Linked DNA regions of Homo sapiens: region 1 is linked to region 2. Evidence: promoter capture Hi-C in 16 types of primary human blood cells and fetal thymus (Javierre and others, 2016). All regions are on one chromosome and are shown on one strand. Each heading gives the region's core, a stretch centred on a gene start or on the middle of the fragment in contact. The rest is flanking DNA. Distances are from core to core; before and after follow the strand shown. Region 1 has its middle 7.3 kb from the start of CALML5. Region 2 holds the start of CALML3 (calmodulin like 3).

What was found. Contacts are between HindIII fragments. The CHiCAGO score rates a contact against its expected background, and 5 or more counts as called.
Region 1: a contact is called between a fragment that was not itself captured here and the fragment with the promoter of CALML3 in region 2, in 1 of 17 cell types (megakaryocytes). The highest score is 6.0, in megakaryocytes.

Annotation. Positions count from the first base shown.
Region 1 is chr10:5,488,701-5,495,922 of GRCh38, forward strand. No RefSeq gene overlaps it. Among named protein-coding and RNA genes, the nearest start is that of CALML5, 7.3 kb to the right of the region's middle. RefSeq lists a silencer at 4,548-4,726 and an enhancer at 5,026-5,320. The HindIII fragment of the contact is 863 bases long and covers 1,203-2,065 here.
Region 2 is chr10:5,520,542-5,527,815 of GRCh38, forward strand. It overlaps CALML3 (calmodulin like 3), which reads left to right and starts at 4,420. Exons shown (of 1, transcript NM_005185.4): 1 at 4,420-6,230. The coding sequence starts at 4,545. The coding sequence ends at 4,994. It overlaps CALML3-AS1 (CALML3 antisense RNA 1), which reads right to left and starts at 5,705. Exons shown (of 3, transcript NR_120497.1): 1 at 5,592-5,705; 2 at 1,375-1,588. RefSeq lists enhancers at 4,725-5,424, 5,425-6,125. The HindIII fragment of the contact is 11,209 bases long and covers 1-7,274 here.

The DNA of each region.
Region 1 (7,222 bases), core at 384-2,883, 35 kb before region 2:
TTAAATAGACCCCCACGCCTGGGCGCCCCCACCGCTGACCCACCAGGGCTCAGTGCAGGGGGATGGCTCACACGGCACATTCTCCAGAAGCTCCTGGGGTAGCTTCCAGGTGCAGCCGGGGTTGGGAATCGCTGGCTTATGCAACCCAGCAGAGAGGCGGGAAAGGCAGAGCTGAGATCGGGTGGGGCCACCTGTGGTGGGGAAAGAGATGAGCTCACACCTGGAGATGGTAAACAGTGCAAAAGCAAGAAGAAGCTTACAGAAGGAGTCGTTGGGCCTTTGCCCCAGCTGCAGCCACGTGAGAGGGAAGCCAGGGGAGGAGCAAGGTGCAGGCATCTGTGGGCTGGGCAGGGCCTGACTGCACTGGGCCCAGGCTGGGAAGGCCTCACCTGCTTCTCCAGCGGGAACGGAGGGCGACCTGCGCAGCCTAGGCACTGCGGCCGTGGTTCACATGCAAAAACTAAAAGCTGGACTCATTTCCAGAGAAACTGAGATAGAATACTCTACCTAAATTGTTTCTGGAACACATGATCACCATACCTGTTGGGAATCTGTTCTTGATGAGTTTTGTTGTTGTTGTTTTTATAAAAGGGGGACCCACTGTGGAGAGAGAAACAATGGCTTGAACTCTTAAAAGCTGGTCTTAGAGGTCTGGAGTCCACATCTTTGACTACCTGGCAGGGTGACATGCCTTTGATTCTCCCTATGTTTGGACCAAGAGGGGATGAGTTGGGATTTTGTGATCATACGAGGACTATTTTCATGGTTCTTGGACAACAAAAAGAGAGAACAAGACAGGAGTCCTCTCTCTGCAGTTGCATTTCTGACTCTTCCTCTTGTTGCAGAGTACAACTCTGTGAAGATTTCCTTTAATCCCATCAGCACTACGGAAGCCATCTCCCCCATGCTGGAGATGAGGCCTCCCGGGCAAAGGAGCCTGCCAGGTCGTGCCATCACAGTGCATGTGGAGGGTTTCATGCAGAATCCAACACACTTGAGGAGCCTGTCATCTAGTTTAAGCATTGATGGGCTTTATTTCACTATTCAGGGTTCTGAGGATGGAGAATAGGCCTTGTCCACTAGGAATGACGTAAGAGGTGCACTCTGGAAGGAACTGTACAAATAGGGAGAGATCACCTTCAGCCATTTGCTTGGAAAAGAGGTGCAGAGGAACCCCCTCTGCGCCAGGCCCGGCTGTGGAAAGCTTCCAAAAGCAGGAGGCATTTGATGTGGAACTTAACAGAAGGATTGGGTCACCAGGCCTACCAGGATGGATATAAACTAGGATTTAAAAGATCCAGGGGGCAATCCAATGAAGAAAATGTATTATTTCGTATATGAAATTTGAAACATGTATTTGGATCAGAAGTAGAGTAATTCAATCTACCGACAAATCAATCTACTGAAGAACCTCTTGGAAGATTTGGGGGAAGTTTTGCTTTACTTGAAATTAGTTTTGGTTTCCCCAATGCTGTCCCACCCAAGTCAACTCCAGTAGCTTCATGAGTGCAGTTCTCCCCTGCTGAATGTCAGTTTCATGTGTGATTCATATTTCAGACTCCAAGCACTTACCAAATACTTAAACCACTTGCAAAATATCCATTTGATTGAGCCAGTGAATAAATCAGTGAATTGAAAGAAGTACTAAAGCAATAGATTTAAGTTGAAATTCTATTAGGGGAAAGAAAGCTGCCAATCTCTAAAATCCTGGACGTTGAAGACGTGTCCAATGGCTGAATCTTGAAATGAACCAGAAGCTCTCTTTCTCCAAAACCATTGAACCAAAATGCTAAAAATGAAACAACAAAACAAAAACAGACAACTTTAAACACTGTCAGGTTATGGTACAATGGTTAGGTGAACTGACTGCCGCTAAAATAATTTACTAAAAGTAGAACTGAACAAAACTAAAAATTTAAACTCAGTAAATAAAACGTCAAAGAAATAGTCAACAACTTAGAATAGCTCATCCAATATGAATTTCTGTGATCTTTATTAAGTATCCTTTAAAAAAAACTTTTTAGTAAGTTGGGAAATACCAGCACGTTTACCATTTGCAGAACTAAGCTTCTGGCAAGTCAATTTTCAGAGAAGCAGCTTTCAAAGAACTGGGTTTTCCTAAGTGACCTGAAGCTGCGCCAGCTGCTCGGATGCTTCCTGGGCTCTGTCTACTCTCTTTGGTGTTCTGAGCTGAGACCGGGCACCCTTGTGGACCCAGACGTGGAGCATAGCCTGGTCTCTGCCCTTGAGGGTCTTCAAGGCCATTCAGAGTCGGCAGAGAGGCCATGTCTGTGCATCTCTCGTAACTCACAGTCACCAGCTTCCGGAAGACATTCCACTATGTGGGTCCCAACCAACCCCACCACCAGACCCCCACCTCAAAACCAGTCCCTGGGCAGAGTATGCCCAGGAAGCACCCCTTGAAGGCAGTCCCCTGACCCCCTTCTGAGCCCTTGAATTCCACTCCAGGTCCTTCTTAGCACCTCGCTCTAAGACCTGAAGTGAGCCACTTCCTCTCCAGTCCCTCAAGTTCCCTTCTTCGTCTCTTGGGACAGTAGATTCAGAGAATCTGCTGCTTTCTTATTGCTTTGTGGCCCCATCAAAGCCCTTCTTAAGAATGGGCTCAACAACAATGAACAACTGGCTTAGAACACCCTGTCTCTGTTATTCTGTCTGCCCCAGACAGGTCTTCTGCCTCCCTAGGCTGTCTGAGTGGCTTCACTTCTCTCCTTCCTTAATGCTTCTCTGATTGCCCATTCCCCAGACCTCCAAATCAGCACAGAGCTTCCTGCCACAGCCCTCTTTGTAGGGGGCTCACCCCTGCCCCCCTCCCTGGGTCCAACTGCCAAGGCCACAGCCCTGGCATGGGCACCCAGACTCCCTGATGCCAAGTCGGCCACAAGCCTGGAGCAGGCCTTGGCTCTGGGATTCCAGACTGTATTCCCATGACATGATGGATGTTCTGAGAGGGACAGAATCGCCGAACTCAGGCCGGGGATCCTGTCTCTCCTTCACTGTTCTTCACTTAGACCCTCATACCCGGGGCAGTGTGTGTGGCTGGGGACTCATGAGTCACACCTGCTGTGAGCACTGAGCACCTGCTACGTGGCAGGGGCTGCACTGGGCCACGTGTGGACTCCACAGGCAAAGGCCACCTTGGGACATGCTCACAGCAGCACGCTCCAGAAGCCTGGGCTCTTCAGTGGGCTCTGAGTGCTTTCTAGTACCTTCCACAGGCAGTGTACCCAGTGCTAGTGTCACAGCACCCAGTAGCCCAGGTATTATTATTGATCTCATTTTCCAGGTAAGAAAACCGAGACTCAGAGAAGTCAAGGTATTTGCTCAAGGCCACATGGACAGCGGATCTGGGATTTAATTCCTTCTCCATCTCATTCTGGAGGCTCCAGGGGTGACACAACCATTGAATGGAATATGATCAGCCACTAAAAGCAATGGCGTGGGTCTCCATTATTTTCACAAGGAAAGGTGTCCACAATACAGCATTAGATAGAGAATGGTTACAGAGTCATCTGCATGATGCCATTTCTGGGAAGGAAAAGTATGTAGAAATAGAAGTATGTGAGTGGATAGAAAAGGAAAAAAAAAAAAAGGCAGGGTATGTTCCAAAATATTTACACATGGTCTTTGCTTAGAAAATTGTTTCCATTTTATCCTGCTGTCTATGCTTGTGTAGGTGAGCATTGGACTGACAATTCTGAAGTGCCTTCCTGATGACCAGTGTGACCTTTTCCTTCCCAAGAACTATGTTTCTCTTGCTCCTCGCCTCCCCACCTTACACAAGGCACAGCTGAGCCCAGACAGGGGAGGCAGCTGACCTAAAACCACCCAGCAGAGCACGTCCCAAGCTTCAGGCCTGGAGCCCAGGAGTCTTGACTCCACACTCACGGGGGCCTGGGGCCTGACCAGACCAGTGAGGCCTCTGACCCTTCACTGCCTGAGAGAATGTGCCCCAGCCTGTGAGCAGCTGCCCCCGGGCCCTCCTTCAATACCAGTCCTAGGTAGAAAGGCTGATGGTGGCCCAGGAGGAGGGTCTGGGCTTGGCCTGGCCACTGCAGGAGACTCCAGGGTTCACCTTTCCCCTTTGCTCCCACCACCTGGAATCCCTGCTGCCTGAAGCACCCCCACTATGGCATCCCTCTAAGCAAGACCAGAGCCCATCATTCTTTAGAAGCTGTTCTGGTGGGCTCGACCAAGAAGTCAAGGACCCCCTGACAAGGAAGCTTCAGCGCAAGCCAGCGGCTCTTGGTGTGTGTGTGGAGTGGGTGTGAGTGAGTGTCTCTTCCTCAGTGCACATGCCTGACTCCCGTCCACTCCATACCCTCCTGATATGGCCTGGGGAGGGACTGGCCGACAGATACTCCCCAGGCCTGACCCTCTCCTGTCCCCCTGTGCCTGCCCAAACTGTGCGCTGATATTGGTGCTGCCTCCATGCAGAGCCGGGAAGGATCAGACCCATGGCTGGGTCAGGGATCCTGCCCAAGAAGAGGGAGAGGTGGGGGTTGGCTGATTTGCAGGATTTGGTTCCATGGAGAGCTGGAGAAATGGATTCCAGGAAACCAGGAAGGCAGGGAGAGCAGACACCTGAGGTGGGAGAGAGGGTTCTGGGCAGCCAGAGCCCAGGGCGGGGGTGTGGAATGTCGGCACATCCCTGGAAGCTAAGCAGGAATGTGGTGGGAGACATACACCCATGGGTGCTTCCAAGAGGCACAGCGAATTCCTGCTGTCAGGCAGAATTCCCAGAAACAGCAGGTGAGTGGTCTCTACTCACCTTAGAAACGCCCACCGCACAGGAGACTGGCGAAGCTCCCTCTTGAACTTTCTCCCTGCTCGATGACCTCTCATCTTCAGGAGACTGGCGAAGCTCCCTCTAGAACTTTCTCCCTGCTTGACGACCTCCCTCCTGCCCCCTCCTCTCATCTTCAGACTTCTTGTCTTTGCTAAGACTCCAGGGGAGTCCAGGGAGGCCAAGGGGGTCCCTCCTCCAGCAAACATTCACTGAGGGAGGAGTGGCCCTGTTTATTCAAAGCAAATCATACGTTCTGTGTGCAGCAGCCTACACCCTGGAGGTACAGGAATTAGGAACTGCCCTGCAGGCCCTGAGGGGCTCCAGGCTGGGTCTGAAGGAGAAGAAAAATTGAGAAACTGCTGTTTACCTAGAGAAAGGTAAATATTGTCAGTGAGGAATGTGCAAACGGCCCAGGGTTAGAGGATGACCTTCCCTGCAGAAAAGGCCCCAGGGATTGCACAGGATGCCAGGCTGATCCTTCTTTAGTCTCCTGGGCCCTCCTTCAATGCCAGGCTGATCCTTCTTCAGTTCCCCGGGCCCTCCTTCAATACCAGGCTGATCCTCCTTTAGTCTCCTGGGCCCTCCTTCAGTACCAGGCTGATCCTTATTCAGTTCCCCAGGCCCTCCTTCAATCCTTCTTTAGTCTCCTGGGCCCTCCTTCAATACCAGGCTGATCCTTCTTCAGTCTGGCATCCTGGGCAATTCCTGGGACTTTTCTGCAGGGAAGGTTGCCCTTTCCTCTACAACCCTCCTCCTTGCCCCATTAAAAGATCCCCCAATAAAAGTCAATCAGATGGCTCGCCCTGCCTGTAATCCCAGCACTTTGGGAGGCAGGTCACCTGAGGTCAGGAGTTCAAGACCAGCCTGTCCAACACGGAGAAAGCCCGTCTTTACTAAAATGCAAAAATAAGCCAGCATGGTGCACGCCTGTAATCCCAGCTACTTGGGAGGCTGAGGCAGGAGAATCGCTTGAACCCAGGAGGCTGAGGTTGAAGTGAGCTGAGATCGCACAGCTGTATTCCAGCCTTGGGTGACAGAGCCAGACTCCGTCTCAAAAAAAAAAAAATAGTCAGACCAAGGCTTTTGGGGCCCTGACTCCCATTTCCCTCGAAGTGTGTGAGTTTCTGGACAGGTTTTTAGCCACCGGGCACCATTCCCTCATCCTCATCTGGGTCGATCAGCTCAGCCCTGGTGCCCTCCACTGTCCCGGTTCTAACATTGCAAGCCCAGCATTCCAAGACCCCTTACACCCCAGCCAGTCAGGATGGTGCCCACCCCATTGCCTGAGCTCTTAGCCCACGGGGGAGCTCCCCTATTGCCTGCAGAAAAAGGAACAGAAGTGTGGTCCACACCACAGGTCTGCAGGCCTGGTCTCCTGGCTACTCCCCCAGCAGCAAATCAGCCTGAGCTGCTTTCTCTCACCTACTCCCTTACACGTGGAGCTGATTCCGTTTCTAAGTGAGTGGATAGAGAGGGGGATGGAAGAGCTAGCGGATGCCTCCATAGCCTGCAGAGACGGCAACAGGACCGTGTTTCTGAGGGTGGGCCAGGGCCTTCCTTCCTGGGACCCAGGAACTTCCATTTCAGTGCATTTTCTTCTCAAAGGTTGGACCTTGGTCCACGGTTGCAAGGAGAGCCCAGATCTAACCATCATCACAAATCTGGATGTATATGCTGACCCTAGAGTTGGTAACGCTACTGTAGAAAATGTCTTCTTTGGCCAGGTGTGGTGGCTCATGCCTGTAATTCTGGCACTTTGGGAGGCCGAGGCGAGTGGATCACCTGAGGTCAGGAGTTCGAGACCAGCCTATCCAACATGGCGAAACCCTGTCTCTACTAAAAAATACAAGAAAAATTGCTGGGCATGGTGGCGCACGCCTATAATCCCAGCTACTCGGGAGGCTGAGGCAGGAGAATCACTTGAACCTGGGAGACAGAGGTTGCAGTGAGCTGAGATCACACCACGGCACTCCAGCCTGGGTGACAGAGCGAGATTCCATCTCGAAAAAAAAAGAAAAAAAAATGCCTTGTTTATTTTTTTCTTTTTGGTTTTGGTTTTTCTTCAGCCCTTCCAGATTCTGTCCCAACCCCCAACTATAGAAATGGAGACAGTCAGGTGCCATGCTAGCTCCATGGAAAACTCAAGCCCTTTCCTCCTGAGTCAGTCAACAGACTGTGGAGTCAGGGCCAGTGGGGCAGGGCCTTCCCACAGGGGAAAATCCAGCAAAGCTTCATGCAGGAGGGTCGAGTTTCCCCGTGTGCTCCTCTGTGATTTCTAACCTTCCATGATGCGCCCATATTATTTTTAGTATGAAACATTTCAGACACATAAAAATATAGAGACTAACATAGAGGACACCCACATAACCATCAACATCATCAGCTAAAGAAATGAAACCTTCAGAACCAGCTGAG
Region 2 (7,274 bases), core at 3,170-5,669:
GACTACAGGCCCGGCTAATTTTTTGTATTTTTAGTAGAGACGGGGTTTCATTGTGTTAGCCAGGATGGTCTCGATCTCCTGACCTCGTGATCCGCCCGCCTCGGTCTCCCAAAGTGCTGGGATTACAGGCGTGAACCACCGCACCCGGCCTGATCACCCAAGTATTAATGGCTAGTACCATTAGCCATTTCTCCTGATCCTTTCACTCCTCCCACCCTCCACCCTCCAGTAAGCCCCAGTGTGTGTTGTGTTCATGTGTTCTCATCATTTAACTCCCACTTATAAGTGAGAACACGCAGTATCTGGTTCCTGCATTAGTTTGAAAGAATAATGGACTCCAGCTCCATCTCTGTCCCTGCAAAGGACATGATCTCGTTCTTTCTTATGGCTGCATAGTATTCCATGGTGTATACGTACCACACTTTCTTTATCAGTCTATCATTGATGGGCATTTGGTTAATTCTATGACTTTGTTATTATGAACAGTGCTGCAATGAACATACGCGTGCATGTGTCTTTATAATAGAGCAATTTATATTTCTTTGGGTATGTACCCAGTAATGGGATTGCTGAAAAATATGGTTTTATGTGAACAAGTAATGGGTTTATTTCTATTAAGTTATAAATATATAAAAATATACTTAAATATTTAAATATTTCTTGGTTTTAGTTGCAAACACAGTATATATATATATATATATATATCCCACATAAACACAAGCTCTTTGGAGTCCCCAATAATTTTTAAATGTTTAAATGTATCCTGAGACCAAAATAATATCTATTCTGTAGGGAAAGGAGTTGCTATATTGGGGTGAGAGGCTGCAGGGAGAGAGTTAAACAGAAAATAAAAAACATTCCCTCTGTCACAGTTTCCCAACCAGCGAGTTGCAACAGTATGGCCCATCGTAAGGCGGTCCTGGTCCTCTGTGAGTCACTTTGCACTAAGCAACGCTGTTTAAAATTCTGAGTCCTCTTTTTTTTTGAGACAGGGTCTTGCTCTGTCTCCCAGGCTGGAGTGCAGTGGCACGATCTTGGCTCACTGCAACCTCTCCCTCCCTGGTTCAAGTGATTCTTCTGCCTCAGCCTCCCAAGTAGCTGTAGCTGGGATTACAGGCACCACCCACCATGCCTGGCCAATTTTTGTACTTTTAGTAGAGACCTTTAGTAGAGGTTTCACCATGTCAGCCAGGCTGGTCTCGAACTCCTGACCTCAAGTTCAGGCCTGCCTCGGCCTCCCAAAGTGGTAGGATTATGGGTGTGAGCCACTGCACCTGGCACTGAGTCCTCTTTCAGTGTGCCTTTTTGAGAAGGACATTTAGGTAAAAGCTAATGTTTGAGCCACAGAGCCATGACCCAGAAACCAGCAGTTACCTGTTGGCTTCTCATCCTGGTCGTTGGTCAAGTGGGCAGGAGGTATGACCGTATTCCTGTCCTTGTCCATCAGGGCACTGTCTCAGGCCAGGTTTCCCCCTGATGCCATCCGGGGCTCTCCAGAAGACTGTGTCAGCCACATGTCCGAATCCCTTGGTGCTCCTGTCTCCTGTGACTGTCCCTGTATTCCTTCATGAAGAAGTCTCTCCAGCCCCTAGGCAGGGAAAGTAGAAGAAAAATGCTTCATAGCATCTTTTCCACTAGATGGTCACTCTGGCAGTCAAATAGGGGGTGTGGTTATTGGCTATTAATTATTCTGCTTTTCTATACATAATAATAGCTATGCTCACCATAGTCTCATATCTCTGAGAGATATAAAGCTGACAATATTACCAGGCCCTCCACATTACCTAACCTCAGAGAAAGAGAAAGAATATTGGGAGTTCAGTAAGATATGGAATATTTTTTATCAGGGATGGTTTTTGAATCTTCAGTCATTTCCCCTAATAATAGAAATGATATATGGCAAATATAAAACATTTTTAAATGAGCAAAGATACTACATTTATAAGAAAATTAAAAGCACTTATAATCCTATTATCCAAAGTATCCACTATTAAGAGTTTGGTACATGATTATCTAGGCGTTTCTTCTGTGAATGTATATAAATAAACATATATAAATGTTTAATACATGAAATCATATCACATATACAGTTTTCTATCTGCTTTTTAAAAATTTTCCATGGAAACCTTTCCATTGTTATATCCTCATCCTCATTTTAAAGGCTGTGTATTATTTCATGGTGTGGAGGAAATTTCAGGTATTTGTTACTAACCTGCTATTTTTGGGTATTCGGGTGATCTAGAGCGGAGATATTTAAATATTTTTAAAGTGCGTTTGGGATATGAATTCTAACACTCAGGCATCAGGCACCAGTGTACAATCAAGAGCCCTTCTCAGAAGGTGACAGAAGGTCCCCATGTCCCAGAATTAGCCCCCAAAAAACCCCAAAATAAAAAAGGGACCTTGATCCCCAGCTGAACTTTTCATGGGGTGACCTTGAGCAAGCTGTGTGTGCAGCCTTTGCTGGGTCTCCCCACCACAAAAGAGATCTCCAGAATATTCGAGGAAGGGCGGGGCTCCCAGGAGCAAAGCACACACTCTTTCTTGCGCAGCCCCCTGTGGACAGAGCTGTAACCTGGGCCCAGGGCATGCTCCCAGCCTGCAAATGGAGATGCTGCCTCATTTTTCTCTCTAAATCTAAACTTTATTATCAGCCCCTCTCCTACCCCAGGGAGTCCTGGCCAGCCCATCTCCCCACTCCCCTAGAGCTGTTGGGGTGTGAGGTCTCAGGCAAGGCCGAATATTCTGGGGTGAGAAAGGAGGGGAGGGTGGGATCTGGTCACCAAAGTGTCACCCACACACGTGGCTTCCAAGATGCCCATCACCTCGTTCCCTCCACGCCACCCCTGGGCCCCAGGGCTCTTTGCCAAGGCTGCCTGTGGCCACCACATCCCTGAGCCCTGCTGCTCTGGGGTCCACAAACTTCTCTTCTAAGGAAAAGATTCCATGGGGATGGAGGGATTCTTCAACCTTCCTGCTTCCTCCTGCCCAAACCCTCAGGACACAGGCTTTGTGGGAGCCCTCAGGTAGGAAGGAAGGTGTCTTGCAGGTGGCTTCAATTTTCCCCCTACCACAGACCCCCTCCAGACCAGAAGGACACACTTGCCTCTACTTGAATAGAGAAGGGAAGGAAAATCAGAGAGAAAAAAAATGAATATCCGAGCCCTTCTCCTGCCATAGTCTCTCCTCGGCAAGTCCAGGTCCTCAAAAGGACACTTTCTTTCCCTTTCCGGTCTCTACCCCACCCCCACACACCCAGCAAAAAATAGAGTGGGCTCCATGTTTCTCCCCCAGTGTGGATTTCTTGGATTCCCACAGGTGAAGCGCCTGCTCCTGCCTCTCTGGGGGTCATGTCTCCAGGCCCCCTGGGAGTGGGAGCCGAGTCTGTGCTGTGAACACCCCACTATCCCCCTAAGCGGGTCTCCTCTGGGAGAGGCCGCTCCACAGCCCCAGCTCCATGCTGCCCGGAGCTCCTGGGGCAATGTGGACCAGAGAATGATAGTGGGACTTCCTGGCTGAGCCCTTCAAGGTCTCCTTTGTCTCTCCTCCTTGTCCCCTCCCTCACAGGCCTGCAGCCCCACTGATCATCTTCCAGCCCTTGGCCCTGCCATGGCCACTCCGGCCTAGACAGCTGCTTCTCAGCAGGAGGTCTGTCCTTGACCAGGCTGAAAGGTGACCTCGGGGTCCTGTCCATCACCACCTTGTATGTCCATCAGCATTTATCAATAATCCCTAGTCACCTTGTTTGCATTCCTCGATCAGTTGACCTGCAAACTAGCTGTCTTGCTAGTTAACCTCACGAGGACTGGGGGTGGCTTGCCGGTCCCACTGTGTTCCCAGCTTCCAGAGTGACACTGCACCTAGTAGGCACTCAAATATCTGTGAAAGGGTGGATGAGTGAATGGGTTGGAGGAAACCCCTCCCTATTCATGTCCATTCTGAAGATAAGAAAACTCGCTGCTTCTACCTGAAGGGAAAACCTTCCTCCTCCAAAAACCCTCCTGTTCTATATGAGGCTTTAGAAACCAAAGGCAAGGACGTTTCTTTCATCTGCCTTTCATCCTGCAAAAAGCCCTCCACTCAAGGGAAGAAAGGGCACTGGAGTTTATTGAGTGGGAGACAGGCGGCAGGTGGGAGACGGGGAGGGAGGAGAGAAAGGGAAATTCAGGAGGAAGGAGTCCAGCGTGGATTGCTCCAAAGCTCACCCACCACGCCCTGACTGCAGGTGTGATTCGGGGCCCCCGTGGCTCTGCTGGGTCCAGGTGCAAGCAGGCACAGAGGTGCTGGCGTCAGCTCGATTCGCAGGCCCTGGACTCCTGTCTAAACAGGACAGGCCCGGGCAACCGCAGGGCAGGGGCGTCTGCCAATGATGGGGGAGGACTCTGCTGCTTCTTAAGCTCCAGCGTCTCAAGCCAGGGCGAGACAGCCCGCCGGCCGCCCGGATCTCCACCTGCCACCCCAGAGCTGGGACAGCAGCCGGGCTGCGGCACTGGGAGGGAGACCCCACAGTGGCCTCTTCTGCCACCCACGCCCCCACCCCTGGCATGGCCGACCAGCTGACTGAGGAGCAGGTCACAGAATTCAAGGAGGCCTTCTCCCTGTTTGACAAGGATGGGGACGGCTGCATCACCACCCGCGAGCTGGGCACGGTCATGCGGTCCCTGGGCCAGAACCCCACGGAGGCCGAGCTGCGGGACATGATGAGTGAGATCGACCGGGACGGCAACGGCACCGTGGACTTCCCCGAGTTCCTGGGCATGATGGCCAGGAAGATGAAGGACACGGACAACGAGGAGGAGATCCGCGAGGCCTTCCGCGTGTTCGACAAGGACGGCAACGGCTTCGTCAGCGCCGCCGAGCTGCGACACGTCATGACCCGGCTGGGGGAGAAGCTGAGTGACGAGGAGGTGGACGAGATGATCCGGGCCGCGGACACGGACGGAGACGGACAGGTGAACTACGAGGAGTTTGTCCGTGTGCTGGTGTCCAAGTGAGGCCGGCGCCCACCATGCTCCTGGGCGCCCACGCGGCCCACAGGGCAAGAACCCGGGGCCTCCCGCCTCCTCCCCCATCCCCCTGCCTCCCCTGGGCACTGTGGCTTCCTCCTGCGCCTGGTTGATTCAGCCCACCTCTCTGCATCCCGCTTCCCGCGTCTCTTCTCTGCACTCCTGCCGACCTTCCCACCTGCTCGTCTGAATGACACGGAACGCTCCCACTGCAGGCAAACCGTGACGCCCTCCCCACTCGGGAGAAGCAGAGCTGACCTTAGGACCGAGCACCAGGGCAGGTTGCGCTGACTCTGCGGCCCTCCAGGACGGACACCGGGTGACCCCTTAGGGCACCCAGGCAAGATCCCTAAGAGGCACCCAATGCCCAGGCCAGGGGGGCTGCAGCCCTCAGCCCCCGCCAGGATTCCCGCAGGCTCCTGGACTGGAAGCTCCCTCCGCGGTCGGATTCTGGAGGGTGGGAGGCATCTTGGCCTGCAGTAAGCGGTGCTGACGGGGACTCTGGCCACAGAGGTCAGGCCTCCTGAAAACAGCACTGCCTTCCGCGCTGCCCCAGCTTGCCCCATTCCTTGTCCGCCAACCCACCGTGATTCATCTTCTGAAGCTGGGAGTGAAACTGGGTCAGCTGTAACCTGTTCCTATTCATCTGGAAGGAGGGAGGCTTGGATGAGCAGGGGATGAGAGCTGCAGGGAAATAAATGAGATATTCGTCCTTATTTCATTTCCTTTTTTTTTTTGGTTTCCATGGAAATGATCCTTGTTAAATTCAGGGTTGAAACGAGGCAGGAATCTCCATTTTTGTGCTTTTTGAAAATGCAATGAATTCCTATACGGGGGAGCGGGAAAGGTGCCTCAGAGAGAGACAAGTCTGGATGAGGGAAATATTGAATATTCTCAATCAAATGGATACGCTGGCAGCAAAGAGTGGTTAAAAGTCCATCAGGACTTGAAAGACCTGAGTCCATTACGTTGAGAAGGGACCTGCTGATTGCTTTGATTCCCCCTGGCAAGTGCTCCCTGGTTGTGAAGTGCCAGGCACTAGAGATGGTGAGGGGTTGGGGGGCAGTTGGGCACACACAGTGTAAGAGCAATTCAGAGCCGTTAGTCCTGCACTAGCCCTGCAAGCTGCTGGCAACACCTAGAGAAGGTCGAAGGGGCCCTGCCAGAGATCCCTTCAATTCTAAAGGGAGGTATGTTTTGCGGGATGGGCACTAGACGGAGCTCATCAGAAAAGGCCATGGTGGATGTATCCTCTCTCCCTGACACCCCACCCCCGCCCACCAACACCCAGTGTTTCCTCCTTTGTAAAACAAAGAGCTGGGCCCCAGCCCCGGCCTTGCCATCATCACTGCACCACTGGGACCTCCAGGATGACAGGACCCTCATGCCACCTGCTTGGGCTCAGGGCACCATCAAGCACTTGGCCTGCATAGACAATTGGCACCTCCCTATGGGGCAGCCACTATTATTACCTTCCTCATCTTACAAACGAGGAAGTGGAGACACAGAGGGCTTTAGAAAGCAGCCCTGGGTCCCACCAGTGGGTAAGAGGCAGACCTGGGATTTCAGTCAGGTCTGTGCCCTGACCACTCAGCTACAGGTCTGACACCAACCTGTGCCTCCATCATGGTAACTACGGTAGCGCCTCTCTCCAGCACTTGTGAGGAGCCAGAACAACATTCTTAACACACCTGGCATGTAGTAGGTGCTTAATAATGGCAGCTACTGTTACCATCACCTTCAAGATCCCTTCCTGCTCTAATACTGCAAGACTGTCCAGGGTAGTCACCCCTCTCCATAGCTCGAGAACAAGACAAGAGCAGAAAGGGGCAGAAGCAGGTGCTCTGGGGCTGGATTCCTGAGGGGATGCTGGATGGTGGGGTGTCAGGTGAGCACTGGCCCAGGGCCGGTGTAACTGCAGGTACTCCTGTCAGGGGAACAGAAGCAGAGGGCAAGCTAAGGCTCAGCTTGCTGAGCAAATCCCCACCCCTCCCTGCCACTCTCAGGAGTCGGGGTTGATTGGACACGTCCTGGGGAAGATTTGGGAACAAGCCTCATAAACACATGGACAGAGTGTCTAGAGTTCATTGGGCAGCAGCACCCCAGGGGGTGGGGGGCTGTGAGCAGGAGGGGCAGGCAGAAGCCCCCACATGGCTGCTGACCGCCAGGCAAAAGGAATAGTACATCAGGCCTGAGTACCTTTTGTAGAATGTCTCCTAAATTCTGCAGGAAGGAGAGAAACCAAGGTCTCCCTGCACAGGGCATCTT